2 separate regions of the Homo sapiens genome follow, and region 2 is linked to region 1. Evidence: promoter capture Hi-C in human tissues and cell types (Jung and others, 2019). All regions are on one chromosome and are shown on one strand. Each heading gives the region's core, a stretch centred on a gene start or on the middle of the fragment in contact. The rest is flanking DNA. Distances are from core to core; before and after follow the strand shown. Region 1 holds the start of OR5P3 (olfactory receptor family 5 subfamily P member 3). Region 2 has its middle 9.0 kb from the start of EIF3F.

What was found. Contacts are between HindIII fragments. The study calls those that stand out against the background at their distance.
Region 2: a fragment that was not itself captured here is called in contact with the fragment with the promoter of OR5P3 in region 1 in 1 of the 25 tissues and cell types used here (aorta).

What each region holds. Positions count from the first base shown.
Region 1 is chr11:7,827,116-7,833,520 of GRCh38, reverse strand. OR5P3 (olfactory receptor family 5 subfamily P member 3) reads left to right here and starts at 2,681. Exons shown (of 2, transcript NM_153445.2): 1 at 2,681-2,697. The HindIII fragment of the contact is 13,140 bases long and covers 1-6,405 here.
Region 2 is chr11:7,975,183-7,981,587 of GRCh38, reverse strand. It overlaps the pseudogene COX6CP5. Among named protein-coding and RNA genes, the nearest start is that of EIF3F, 9.0 kb to the left of the region's middle. The HindIII fragment of the contact is 5,268 bases long and covers 1-5,258 here.

The DNA.
Region 1 (6,405 bases), core at 1,432-3,931:
TCTTAATCACATATGCAAAGGCCATTTTTAAAGTAAGGTAACATTTATAGATTCCATGGATTGGGGCCTGATATCTTTGGGGGCCATTATTCAGTCTGCTACAGTCTTCTCTCTGGCCCCCAGTGATTTATGTTCATTCCACGGTAAAATGTGTTCATCCCACCTCCAAATCCTCAAAAGCCTCAACCCAACACAGCATCAACTAAAGCCCAAAATATCATCTAAATATCATCAGCTTGAAAGTCCTAAATCTCATTATCTAAATTACCTAAATCAGATATAGGTAGGATACTGTGTATGATCCATCCTGGGGCAAAATTTCTCTCCATCTGTGGACCTGTGAAACAAGAAGACAAGATATCTGTTCCCCAAATATAATGATGATACAGGCATCATGATGTAACAGTAATAGACATTTACATTCTAAAAGGGGGGAAGTGGAAGGAGGGAAAAGGTCATCAGACCCAAGCAATTCTGAAGTTCATCAGGGCAAACACGGCATTTCAAGGCCTATGAATAACACTTAGTGACTCAATGCTCCATGCTCTGGGTCTGAGACTAATATTTTCTGTGTGCACTGCTCCAACCTCTGCACCATGGCTCTAAATCCTAGACCCAAGGCTCCAGCTTTTGGGCCAAAGGGTTTGTTCTTGAAGTTATCCTTTCTTTTTCTTGATAGGTAGCACATATTTGTAGCTGATTAGTTTTATCAGCCTTTTCCTGCTTGTAGAATTTTATGAGTCTTACAGCCTTCTTTCATTTTGTTCTGTCTCTGTCCCTTTAGCACAAGCTGGTGGTGTTTCTGAAACTATATCATTTTTGAAAACCTGGTTCTCCCATGTATGTTATGACTATTCACATCATTAGACAAGAGGGTCCTTCACCTTTAAGTAATTTGTTCTCACATTTTAATACATTGAGTAAACAACAATAGGCTGTACCTTCAAAACTTTGTAAATCTGCTTATCTAAACATCCAAGTTCATCACTTACAAGTTCTGCTTTCCATGTAACTGTAGGTCAAAATTAAGCTAGACTTTCTGTCACTATCTAACAAGGATAACTTTTTCTCCAGTTTCAAAACAGCATGTTCCTTGTTTCTGTTTGAGCCCTCACCCAGCAAAGTGAACTAAAACACATGACCCAGCTCTATGCTGTCTACAAGAAAGTCACTTCAAATATAATAATAGAGGCAAATTGAAAGTAAAATAATGGGTCAGGTGTGATGGCTCACACTTGTAATCCCAGCACTTTGGGAGGCTGTGGTGGTTGGATCACGAGGCCAGGAGTTTGAGACCAGCCTGGCCAATGTGGTGATACCCCATCTCTACTAAAAATACAAAAATTAGCTGGGCGTGGTGGCAGGCGCCTGTAATCCCAGCTACTCGGGAGGCTGAGGCAAAAGAATCTCTTGAACTCGAGAGGTGGAGTTTGCAGTGAGCCGAGATTGTGCCACTGCACTCCAGCCTGGGTGACAGAGCAAGACTCCATCTCAAAAAAACCAAAACAAAATCCAAAAAAGAAAGTAAAATAATGAAAAAGACATAGCATGTAAATATTAATCAAAAGAAAAGCAGTAGCTATATTAATATTGAATAACGTAGACTTCAGAGCAAAGAAAATTACTAGAGGCAGAAAGGGATGTTACATAATAATAAAATACTTGAAATTATAAAAATGTAGAAACAGAGAACATATTAGAGGATTCCTGAAGTTAAGGAAGGGATGGGGATGGGACAGAAGTTGTTGTGGCTATGAAAGAGTAATGTGAGGGGTTATTGTGCTCATGGAAATGTTCTGTATCTTGACTGTATCACTGCCAGTATCCTCGTTGTGATATTACACTACAGTTTTTCAAAATGCGTTCATTGGAAGAAATTGGGTAGAGGGCATATAAGATCTCTCTGTATTAATTTCATTTCTTAAAACTGCATGTAAATCTACAATAATCTCAAAGTAAAAAGTTTAATTAAAAAATAAAGGTAGTATCATCTAGAAACATACAGAAAACATAAACATTTATTTTTTCCCAGAAGAATTTTTATTTTGAAGAGAAATTACTCTGGTACACTGTACTCTTGCTTATTCCTATAAATCTCAATATAGTTACAGGGGATTTAGCAGTTCATCAAAAAGTTTTATTTAAAAATTCTAATGCATACTAAAAATAAATAAATTTACAGATGTTTTTAGACTTTTTTTTTTCAGTTGAGGTCTTGCTTAGTTGCCCAGGCTGGAGTACAGTGGTGCAATTCTAGCTCACTGCAGCCTCAAACTCCTGACTTCAATCAATCTTCCCATTTCTGCCTCCTGAGTAGTTGAGACTACAGGCATGAGCCATGACACCTGGCTAATTTTACTTTTATTTATTTATATTTTTTTTTTGTAGAGATGGGGTCTTGTTATGTTGCCCAAACTTGTCTGAACTCTTGGCCTCAAACAATTCTCCCACCTTGGCCTTCCAAAGTGCTGGGATTACAAGTGTGAGCCACCATGCCCAGCAGCAACACATATTTTTATGAGCATATGTACCTGTAATTTCCATTGTCTTGATGAATTTTCAGTGAAATTTTTATAAACAAGTAGTGTACTCAAGAGGCTATATCCCAAAGGACCCCAAATCTCATAAATATCACCTTCCTATACAGTGACAGTTCTTTGCAATTTGTTATTATTGCTGATGTACATTCATCTGCAGGTAATAATTTCCCTTTTCTATTGATACAGGAATGTTTGTTTCTCATTTTTGTATTAGAAGTTAAGGTATAGTTTTTTAAAGGAAATAATCATTTGTTGAACATTCACTTATTTCTATGATCCATACTTGGTATTATCATGTACATCATCTTATTCAACACAAGAATCATGTGAAGTATTTTTTTAAACAAATAACGTAATGAAGAGTTGAACAGTTTATGTAAAATTTCCAAGATTCCATAGATTGCTGGTGACAAAGCTGAATCTAATCCCAGGGCCGTATGTCTCCAAAGCTCATGGCATTTCTGTCCAACACATTGCTTCCATGCCATAATAGCATGTATAACTGACTCTGAATTTCTATTATACACATCTATCTTTTCTAAAATTTTAAGCATTCATTCATTCTTGGGTCCATGCCACTTAATAAAGCCCTGTACAAAGATAAGGAAGATAGGACTTCAGAGTTCAAACATGTAATTGCATGGTGTTCTTAACATAGCATGATATTGATCAGTTAATTCAGACGTGAAATTATTCAAGCATCTCAGTTCAGAATAAAAGTGTGAAAATAATGTGGCTGGATGAGCACATGACTTTGATGCCAGTGTGTGTGTGTGTATGCATGTGGTGTGTGTGTGAGAGAGAGAAAGAGACAGCAGTGCATGTGTGCAAGAGCGTTCAGTCTGCTTGAGAGCAAATTCTTTAAAGAAAAATACATTATTCCTTAATTTTGGTTGATCTTTAAAGAGAGAATTATGGGAATTTTTGTGGTTGCTATTGTTGAGGAGCAATAAAGAATGGAAGTTTCCAAGAGTAAATAAACCTTATATTAAATGATGTAGGAAAACATTGAATTATCTTAATTTTCTTCCATAGAAGAAGATATCATTGATAAAAATGGAATTAAATTGTTGACATGTGAAATAAAAATTCCCTCTTTTATCTTATCAGCTATAGCACCTCTTTTGGCTCCCTCTGTATGGTCTGCCTTTCATATTCCTCTGCCTTTCATTCATTCCTCTCTACTTTTTTAAAAAAACACTTTTGCTTCTCTTTTTTCTTAATTCTAATAGAGGCATCAATTGGATACTTAAGATACATAGAAGCAAAGAGCAAAGTGTTTGCAGACTCCAGAGTGAAAGCAATCTATTGAGAAAGTTCACGCATTATCTTCATATGGATGTGTAGAGTATAGACTATAGTGGATTAATTTACTATGCTGAATCCTAGAATATCATTTTAAAATGTCACAGCATCACATTAGCTCAGGTAGACCTGTAATTCCTGAATCTCTTTCATAGTGCTGTCACCAATTTGCAGCCCATTCCAACTGGGCACAATTGTGACTGCTTGATGATTCTCCCATGTATTGAGCAGTTATTTTGTGTATCCTCAGACTTCTAAAAAGCACTGGAGTAGTAAAAAAAAAAATAAGATAAAAGTTAATTTCCTTCAGGAGCCATTTCTTGCCCAAGATAAATTGCTTATGTTCCTTCATTCACTTTAAAACTCTGTATCTTCTGTTTCTCTTTACTCATATTCCCAACCAATCAACATGGAATTTCTGTATCAGCAACCCTATTTTTGTAGCAGCCACTGCAACATTCTTCCCCATCTTGCTGATGCCCTTTGGTGCATATTGGTCTTTCTATGCTGTAATCCCAACTTCTATTACCCAAAAAGGTTGCTTTTTCATAAAGTCATGAGACCCTACAAATACAGACACAAATATATATTTTCAAATATTTTTTCATATTTATGATGAAGCATACATTTTATTTTTATGGTAATTTTTCTCTCCTTCATAAAAATCAACTTCTCATTTTGGAAATTTTCTTTCTTATATCTCCACGTTCAGTTTAAACATTTTGTATAATATCTGTTCATCTTCATTCTTCCCTGTCCTAGTAAGATGTTCTCTATTTCTAGCCAATTTTTTGAAACCCTATATGAAATAACAGCATAGGTAGAGATGAAAGTCTTGACAGACCATATGTAATATTCCAGATGCATACTCCATAAAAGTAACCATGACTAGCAATGGCAGTTTTGGATCTACGTGAAGTCACCACTGCAGTAATCTCAGAAATGACTATCACCAGAATCCAGTTTTTTTGTTTTTTTAACTCCAGGATTTTTGACCCTTTGATTTTACCTACTAGTGTTTCTCATTGGTTTTAAATTCTTCAATAGGGATGACTTTTCCTTGGGTGAGATACTGGGATTGCCTCAAAACTGTTAAGTCACTCCAGGTCAGCTGAGTTGTTTACCTATTACCCCTTCCTCACAATCTTCACAACTTTGGGATTAGCTTTCACCCTCCCTTCTGCTATTCAGCAATTAAATTGTAGCAACTAATGTATGTTAGACAATTGTGTGTATTATCTTCTGTACTCTCTCTCTCAGAATGCCATCTCTATTCAGCTGGAGCTAAGAAAGGTTATTTTCAAGTATCCAAGCCTTCTCTTGAATCAAGAGGTCCCATATCCATCTCTTTTTAACTCTTGAAGCCTTTTTCCTGTGCCCTTCTGCAGTCACAGTTATCAACAAAATTTCTTATGTCCTCAGTATTGGTTTTGAACATTCCATTTCCCTTACTGTCCTTTTCAACAGACACTTGGCTGTCCCTGAGGACAATGTTTTCTCTGCAGCCTTCTCAAATGATGAACTTTTTTTTCTCTTACCACTTTTACCCCGAACCTGGTGATGGATAGGATCTTCCATTTCCCTTGTTGCTGCTTGTGGACATTCTCTCTCCTTCCTACCTACAAATACCCATAGTTGAGTTTTATGTCATCAGACTATACTAACCAATCTTACCTTTCTCTCCTTATGCATTTGCAGTCATCAACTGGCTAGCATCATGTCTCCGCATCTTTGGAAGATTTTTGGCTCTGGCTCACTCATTTTCTTACATTATTTCTGTCACTATTCCTGGTGGCTTTAATACCTCCACATAGAGGTTGCTTTCAACATTTTGGCTTCTTAGTTTCTTGACATATCTTCAAAAAAAATTTGTTTTCCTCCCTAAAACCTGTCTCTCCCGTTGTTAGAGTTTAGACATTAGCATTTGCCAATAACTGTAGCTTTTCCGTAATCTCATTTTTAAGCACCCCAAACTGTAACTACCATCATTTCTTGTTTTTCCTGCTTGTTTTCACTGGTAGAATAATTATAGCAAATTTTCAATCCTTGCAGAAAGGCTAGAACCATTTTGTTGATTTTACCCATCTCAGGTACTCACTTCATCTTTGCCTAGCTTAAATGTAGTGGTTATTTTACTCTCTACCTTGCATATACCCTAACATTCCATATCTGTCCCTTTCGTTGCTCAGAAAAAAGAAAATCTTAGTGAAATTTGACCCCTCATCTATCAGGCACTCACAACTGTTCAGCTGAAAACAAAAGCATATCAATTCCCTAGGTGCTGGGCACTGAAGGAGACTATCACCTGCCTCAAAGAATTGTCGTTATCTCTCAGCCGCATCTTTATGTGAATTACTGCACTGCAAAATTCCCCTTTCAAGAGTAAATGTATTATTTATATGTTAGCATAATTTTAAAACCTTTTTAAATATGTAATGAACCAAATATACTTTCTGATAGTCTATAGTCTTCTTTAGAAATCATAGAAAAGATGTATAATATGTGAAATAAAGATAGTAAATGAATTAGAAGTCCAAGAATATGGTTCTTCATTTTAGCT
Region 2 (6,405 bases), core at 1,375-3,874, 150 kb before region 1:
ACTTCATATGTTTAGTGGCCATATGTATTTGAATCCTGTTAAAAAAAATCTCTCCATATGCTTTACTATTAGGTTGTTTTCTACTAGGTTCTATAGGTTGTTTTCTATTTATTATTTATTTTTGAGAGGGACTTTTTTTTTTAAAGACTTCAGTACATATTTTTATACCAATCCTTTATCAGTCATAAATGTTACAAATATATGCTCTAACTTTTCAGCTTTTCCTTTCACTTTCCTTAAGGTGTATTTTGAAGAACAGATCTTAATTTTAATGTAGTTAAATTTACCAATCCTTTATCTTATGGCTAGGACTTTTATGGGTCTTGTTTAAGAAATTCTTCCTATATGAATACCAGAGACAGGCATTTTATCTACGTATTTTTGATGTTTTTTAAAGTATTGTTTTTATCCTTCAATCTATGTGGGATTTTTAAATTCTATTTTTTGAATTGTCCTTCCTTTCCCTATTCATCTACCGTGCCATTAAAAGAAAAATACAATTGTTCACCACATAGTGATGTTTAGGTCAATGATGGACTGGGCGTGGTGGCTCATGCCTGTAATCCCAGCACTTTGGGAGGCCGAGGTGGGCGGATCATGAGGCCAGGAGATTGAGGCCATCCTGGCTAACATGGTAAAACCCCGTCTCTACTAAAAATACAAAAAAATTAGCCGGGCGTGGTGGTGGGCACCTCTAGTCCCAGCTACTCGGGAGGCCGAGGCAGGAGAATGGCGTGAACCCAGGAGGCGGAGCTTGCAGTGAGCCGAGATCGAGCCACTGCACTCCAGCCTGGACGACAGAGCAAGACTCTGTCTCAAAAAAAAAAAAAGTCTTGGTTATTCTTGGCCCTTTGCTCTTTCCTGTAACATGCTGTACAGGTTTGTAGCGTGGGAGCAATAGGCTATGCCATAAAGTCTAGGTGTGTGGTAGGCTATACCATCTAGGTCTGCGAAAGTACTCTATGATGTTCACACAACAACAAAATTACCTAATAATGAATATCTCAGAATGTATCACCATCATTAGGCAATGCATGACAGTGTATCACAGTTTCATAGTGTCTGGTAGTGTTTCTGGCTCTTGTTTCTATTTTGTCCACTCTGAACCATTGCTGTGCCATATTAATGGCTACATCTCTAGTTTAATTTTAATTTTTTTTTTTTTTTTGAGACAGAGTCTTGCTCTGTCACCCAGGCTGGAGTGCAGTGGCTCGATCTCAGCTCACTGCAAGCTCCGCCTCTCAGATTCGCGCCATTCTCCTGCCTCAGCCTCCCGAGTACCTGGGACTACAGGCGCCCACCACCACGCCTGGCTAAGTTTTTTTTTTTTTTTGTATTTTTAGTAGAGATGGGGTTTCACTGTGTTAGCCAGGAGGGTCTCCATCTCCTGACCTCGTGATCCGCCCACATCTCTAGTTTTAGAATTAGTTTTGAAACGTGGTAGAGCAGGTGCAATATTATGTTGTCTTAATTACCTTAGTTTTAGAATATATCCAGGGCAGCCTCTCCCTCTTGTCTACCATCTTTTTCTTCAAAAGTGTCTTGGTTAGGCCAGGCGGTGGCTCATGCCTGTAATCCCAGCACTCTGGGAGGCTGAGGAGGGTGGATCACGAGGTCAGGAAATCAGACCATCCTGGCTAACACGGTGAAACCCGGTCTCCACTAAAAATACAAAAAATTAGCCGGGCGTGGTGGCGGGCGCCTGTAGTCCCAGCTACTTGGGAGACTGAGGCAGGGGAATGGCGTGAACCTGGGAGGCAGAGCTTGCAGTGAGCCGAGATCGCGCCACTGCACTCCAGGCTGGGCGACAGAGCAAGACTCCGTCTCAAAAAAAAAAAAAAAAAAAAAGTCTTGGTTATTCTTGGCCCTTTGCTCTTTCCTGTACATTTTAGAATAAGTTTGTGAAACCTGATGGATTAGGTTGCATTGATTCTAAAGACGTACTGAGCTGAACTGATATTTTTGTGATATTCAGTTTTCCTATTCATAAACAAAAGCTATAATTCATCTTTCTTTATCTTTTTATTAATAACTTCCAATTTAATTTTGTTTTTTTCCAGAGAATATATCTATACAATACCTATTTTAAAAAATTAATTGTCTTACTTTATAGCCAAGTATGTTATCAAGTGGTCCAGGTGTACCTTAGAAGAATGTTTATCATTTAAATTTAGGACACAGAACTCTATAAGTCTGTTATGTAAAGCTTGCTAATTCTGATCTTTAACCTATATATAATTGATCTTTTTTTATTTGTTTGACCTAGCAACAATTGAGAGAGGAAGTTTAGTATCTTCTCAATGTAATGATGGAGTTGTTAGTTTCTCTCTGTAACTTTGTCAGTTTTTGTTTTACCACATACTGAGTTATTTTGAATCTAATTAGGTTATTACATGCTTAGAACTGTTAAAATTTTCTAGTGAATTGGACCTTTACCATTGTGTGTTGACTGTCTTCAACTCTAATGATGCTTTTGTCTTTTTTTTTTTTGAGGGAGTCTCACTCCGTCACCCAGGCTGGAGTGCAGCGGTACGATCTCGGCTCACTGCAACGTCTGCCTCTCGGGTTCAAGCAATTCTCCTGCCTCAGCCTCCCGAGTAGCTAGGATTACGGGCACGTGCCACCACGCCCAGCTAATTTTTTGTATTTTTAGTAGAGATGGGGTTTCACCGTGTTAGCCAGGATAGTCTCGATCTCCTGACCTCGTGATCCGCCCGCCTTGGCCTCCCAAAATGCTGGGATTACAGGCATGAGCCATTGTGCCCGGCCGATGCTTTTGTCTTAAAATCTATTTTGCTGAAATTAGTATAGCTACATCATAGTCACGTGTAGTGGTGTGTACCTGTAGACCCAGCTACTCACAGGCTGAGGTGGAAGGAGGGCTTGAGCCTAGGTGTTTGAGGCTGCAGTGAGCTATGATTGCACCACTGCACTCCAGCCTGGGCAACAGGGTTACCCTGTCTTGAAAAATAAATAAAAATAGACTGGTTATATTTCAGGACTATACATTCTTCCTAAAATGTGAATTTCCTCTTTTGTCTGGTTCTAAAGTGGAATAAATGATCCATTTCTTTGTTTGTTATCCTTACTAAACTCTACATCTTTTCAGGCATGGATCACGTTGTTTTCATATTTGACCTTCTAGTACCTACCTCATAGTTTATTTATTTAAAAGTAAATAAATAAAAATATATATAGCTACACTAGATTTCCCTTGATTAGCATTTTCTCACATATATTTTCCTCATATTTTTTTTTACTTTCAACCATTCCATATCTTTATGCTTGAGGTGTAACTCTTATAAACACATATAGCTAAATATTTAAACAATTTGATCTGTTTCTCTCTTTGCATTGGCAAGTCTAGTCCATTAGCATTTTCTATGTTGAGTATTTGGACTAATTTCTTACATTTAATTTTTGATTTTTATTTGGTTCACTTTTCTGTGTTCTTTTTAATTTTTAATTTTTGTATTTTTAGTGGAGATGTGGTTTCACCATGTTGTCCAGGCTGGTCTCAAACTCCTGACCTCAAGTGATCCACCCAACTTGGCCTCCCAAAATGCTGGGATTACAGATGTGAGCCACTGTGCCCAGCCCCTGTGTTGTCTCCATTCCTTATATTTGGCCTTTAAATGGGGTTATTGATTGATTGCATGTTCTTATTTTTCCTGTTTCTCTACTACTTAGGAAGCACATATTCCAATTTTAGTGTTTTAATTATAGCTCTTGATTTTATCATGCATTTTTTTCATATTTGTTAATCTATCAAAACAAACTATTCCTTTGCCCACATATTCATGTTTCACAGTTCAGGAACGTAGGCCAGTGACAAACTTCCATGGAACACAATCCCCAGAAATTCTTTACATTCCAATATCACTTTGCATTCCAAAAGATACCAACCTTTTTCATCTCTTCAAAATCATTTGTAGAATTATAATTTCTGCAGAAATCTATATATGCCTTATTTCATGGTTTAGCCACAACAAACTTATAGATAGTTGCAACTCCTAGGACACAACAAATGCTGCAACAGTATGAAATGGCAGATGCTTGGCCAAAAGGCCAAAAACCTTGAGGTTTCATCAAGGCACTGGAAGCTATGATAGTCATGGTATTGCATCATCCTCTGCAAGTTCCTTCCAGATGGACAGAGAAATAGGCATTGCTATTGCACCAGCTGCATGCAGGTGCAGAAGTTATTATGCATTTTTAATGCATTAACTCTGTTTAAAGAACGGCACCGATGATGTTAAAAGGACTTTAAAATGCTTTCACTTTGGTATTTCCCGTTCTGATTTATACACTGTTGTTCATTATTTCCCGTGGGTGGAGGAACTAGCCACATGATGTAAACACTATTAGTATTATATTTATAAGGCTAACACCCAGTATGTTTCAATTTGCTTACCTGTTTACCACTTTCTCTGTACACTATTTCTTCTTGTCTTTCTAGGACAAGACTTTATTCTAAGACCTTTTTTTTTTTTTTTTTTTTGAGATGGAGTCTCACTCTGTCACTAGGCTGGAGTGCAGTGGGGCGATCTTGGCTCACTGCAACCTCAGCCTCCTGGGTTCAAGCCATTCTCATGCCTCAGCCTCCTGAGTAGCTGGGACTACAGGTACACACCATGCCCAGCTAATTTTTTTTATTTTTTATTTTAGTAGAGACAGGGTTTCACCATGTTGACCAGGATGGTCTTGATCTCCTGACCTCATGATCCGCCCACCTCAGCCTCCCAAAGTGCTGGGATTACAGGCGTGAGCCACCATGCACAGCCTGTTCTAAGACTTTCTTCTGAAATCTTTTCACCTACTTGAAGTAAAGCTTTTTCTCTCTTTTTTTTTTAGAGCAGTTCCCTTGGTAGTCCACATTTTTAAAAACTGTGAAAGTGGTTTGCTTTCATTCATTCATTCATTTTTTTTTTTTTTTTAAGGGACAAGTTTTCGCTGTATTGCCTGGGCTCAAGGGAACCTCCCGCCCCAGCCTCCTGAGTAGCTGGAATTACATGCACATGCCACTGTGCCTGGCTTGATTTCATTTTTGAAAAACAGTTTTCCTGGATGTACAATTCTAAATTAGCAGTTATAATATCTTAGTACTTTCAAAACATTCTGCCATCTCTGGCTTCTTTTTTGCTTTGTTGTTTCTTTGTGGTCCTTTCTTTCTGGATGCTTCAAGATCTGTTTGTCTTTAGAGTCTGCTGTTCCATTGTGATGTATTTTAAGGTGGCTTTCTTTTTATGTATTCTGCTTGGGATAAATTGTTCTTCTTGGATCTATAGATTCGTGGTTTTGTTTTTTTTTTTTGGTTCGGGAAATTTACAGCCATTTGCTTTTTTTTTTTTTTTTTTGAGACAGAGTTTCTGTTGCCAGGCTGGAGTGCAGTGGTGTGATCTCAGCTCACTGCAACCTCTGCTCCCTGGGTTCAAGCAAGTCTCCCACCTCAGTCTCCTGAATAGCTGGGATTACAGACATGCACCACCATGCCTGGCTAATTTTTGTACTTTTAGTAGAGACAGGGTTTAGCCATGTTGGCCAAGCTGCTCTCGAACTCCTGACCTCGAGTGATCCACCTGCCTTGACCTCCCAGAGTGCTAGGATTACAGGCATCAGCCATTGCGCCCGGCCCATTTGCTCTTAATATTGCCTCTCCTGACCTTATTCTCCATGTCTCTTAAGCTTTCATATTTTCAATCTGCTATCCGTTTATGCTGCTGTCTGGATAAATTCTTTGGCCATAGCTTCAGCTCTCTAATTCTGACTTCAGCTGCTATCTGTTCTGTATATTGAATTTTAGATTTCAATAATTATATTCTTCATCTGTAGAAGTTCTATTTTATTTTCTTTCTTTTTCATATAAAAGGATTTTTAAAACAAATCTATTTTTTCTTATTTCTTATAAGCTTATTTTTGTAATTACATCCTTAAATTTTAAAAACATTTTCATACGAAGCTGATAAATGTAACATCTATAATTCTTAGTGGTCTGAATCTGTGTCTCTTCTTTCTTTCTTTCTTTTCTTTTCTTTTTTTTTTTTTTTTGAGACAGGGTTTCACTCTTGCCGAGGCTGGAGCGCAGTGGCATGATCTCGGCTCACTGTAGCCTGGACCTCCCAGGCTCAAGTGATCATCTCACCTCAGCCTCCTGAGTAGCTGAGACTACAGGCATGTGTCATCACGCCTGGCTAATTTTTGTAGAGATGAGCCTTCACCATGTTGCCCAGGTTGGTCTTGAACTCCTGAGCTTAAGTGATCCACCTGCCTTGGCCTCCCAAAGTGCTGGGATTACAGGCGTGAGCCACCTTGCCTGGCCTGAATCTATGTTTCTTGTTTTTATTTATTCTTATTCAGACTTTCAAGGCTATGAGTTCATTTCTTGGTTTTTGAGCGATAGTTGTT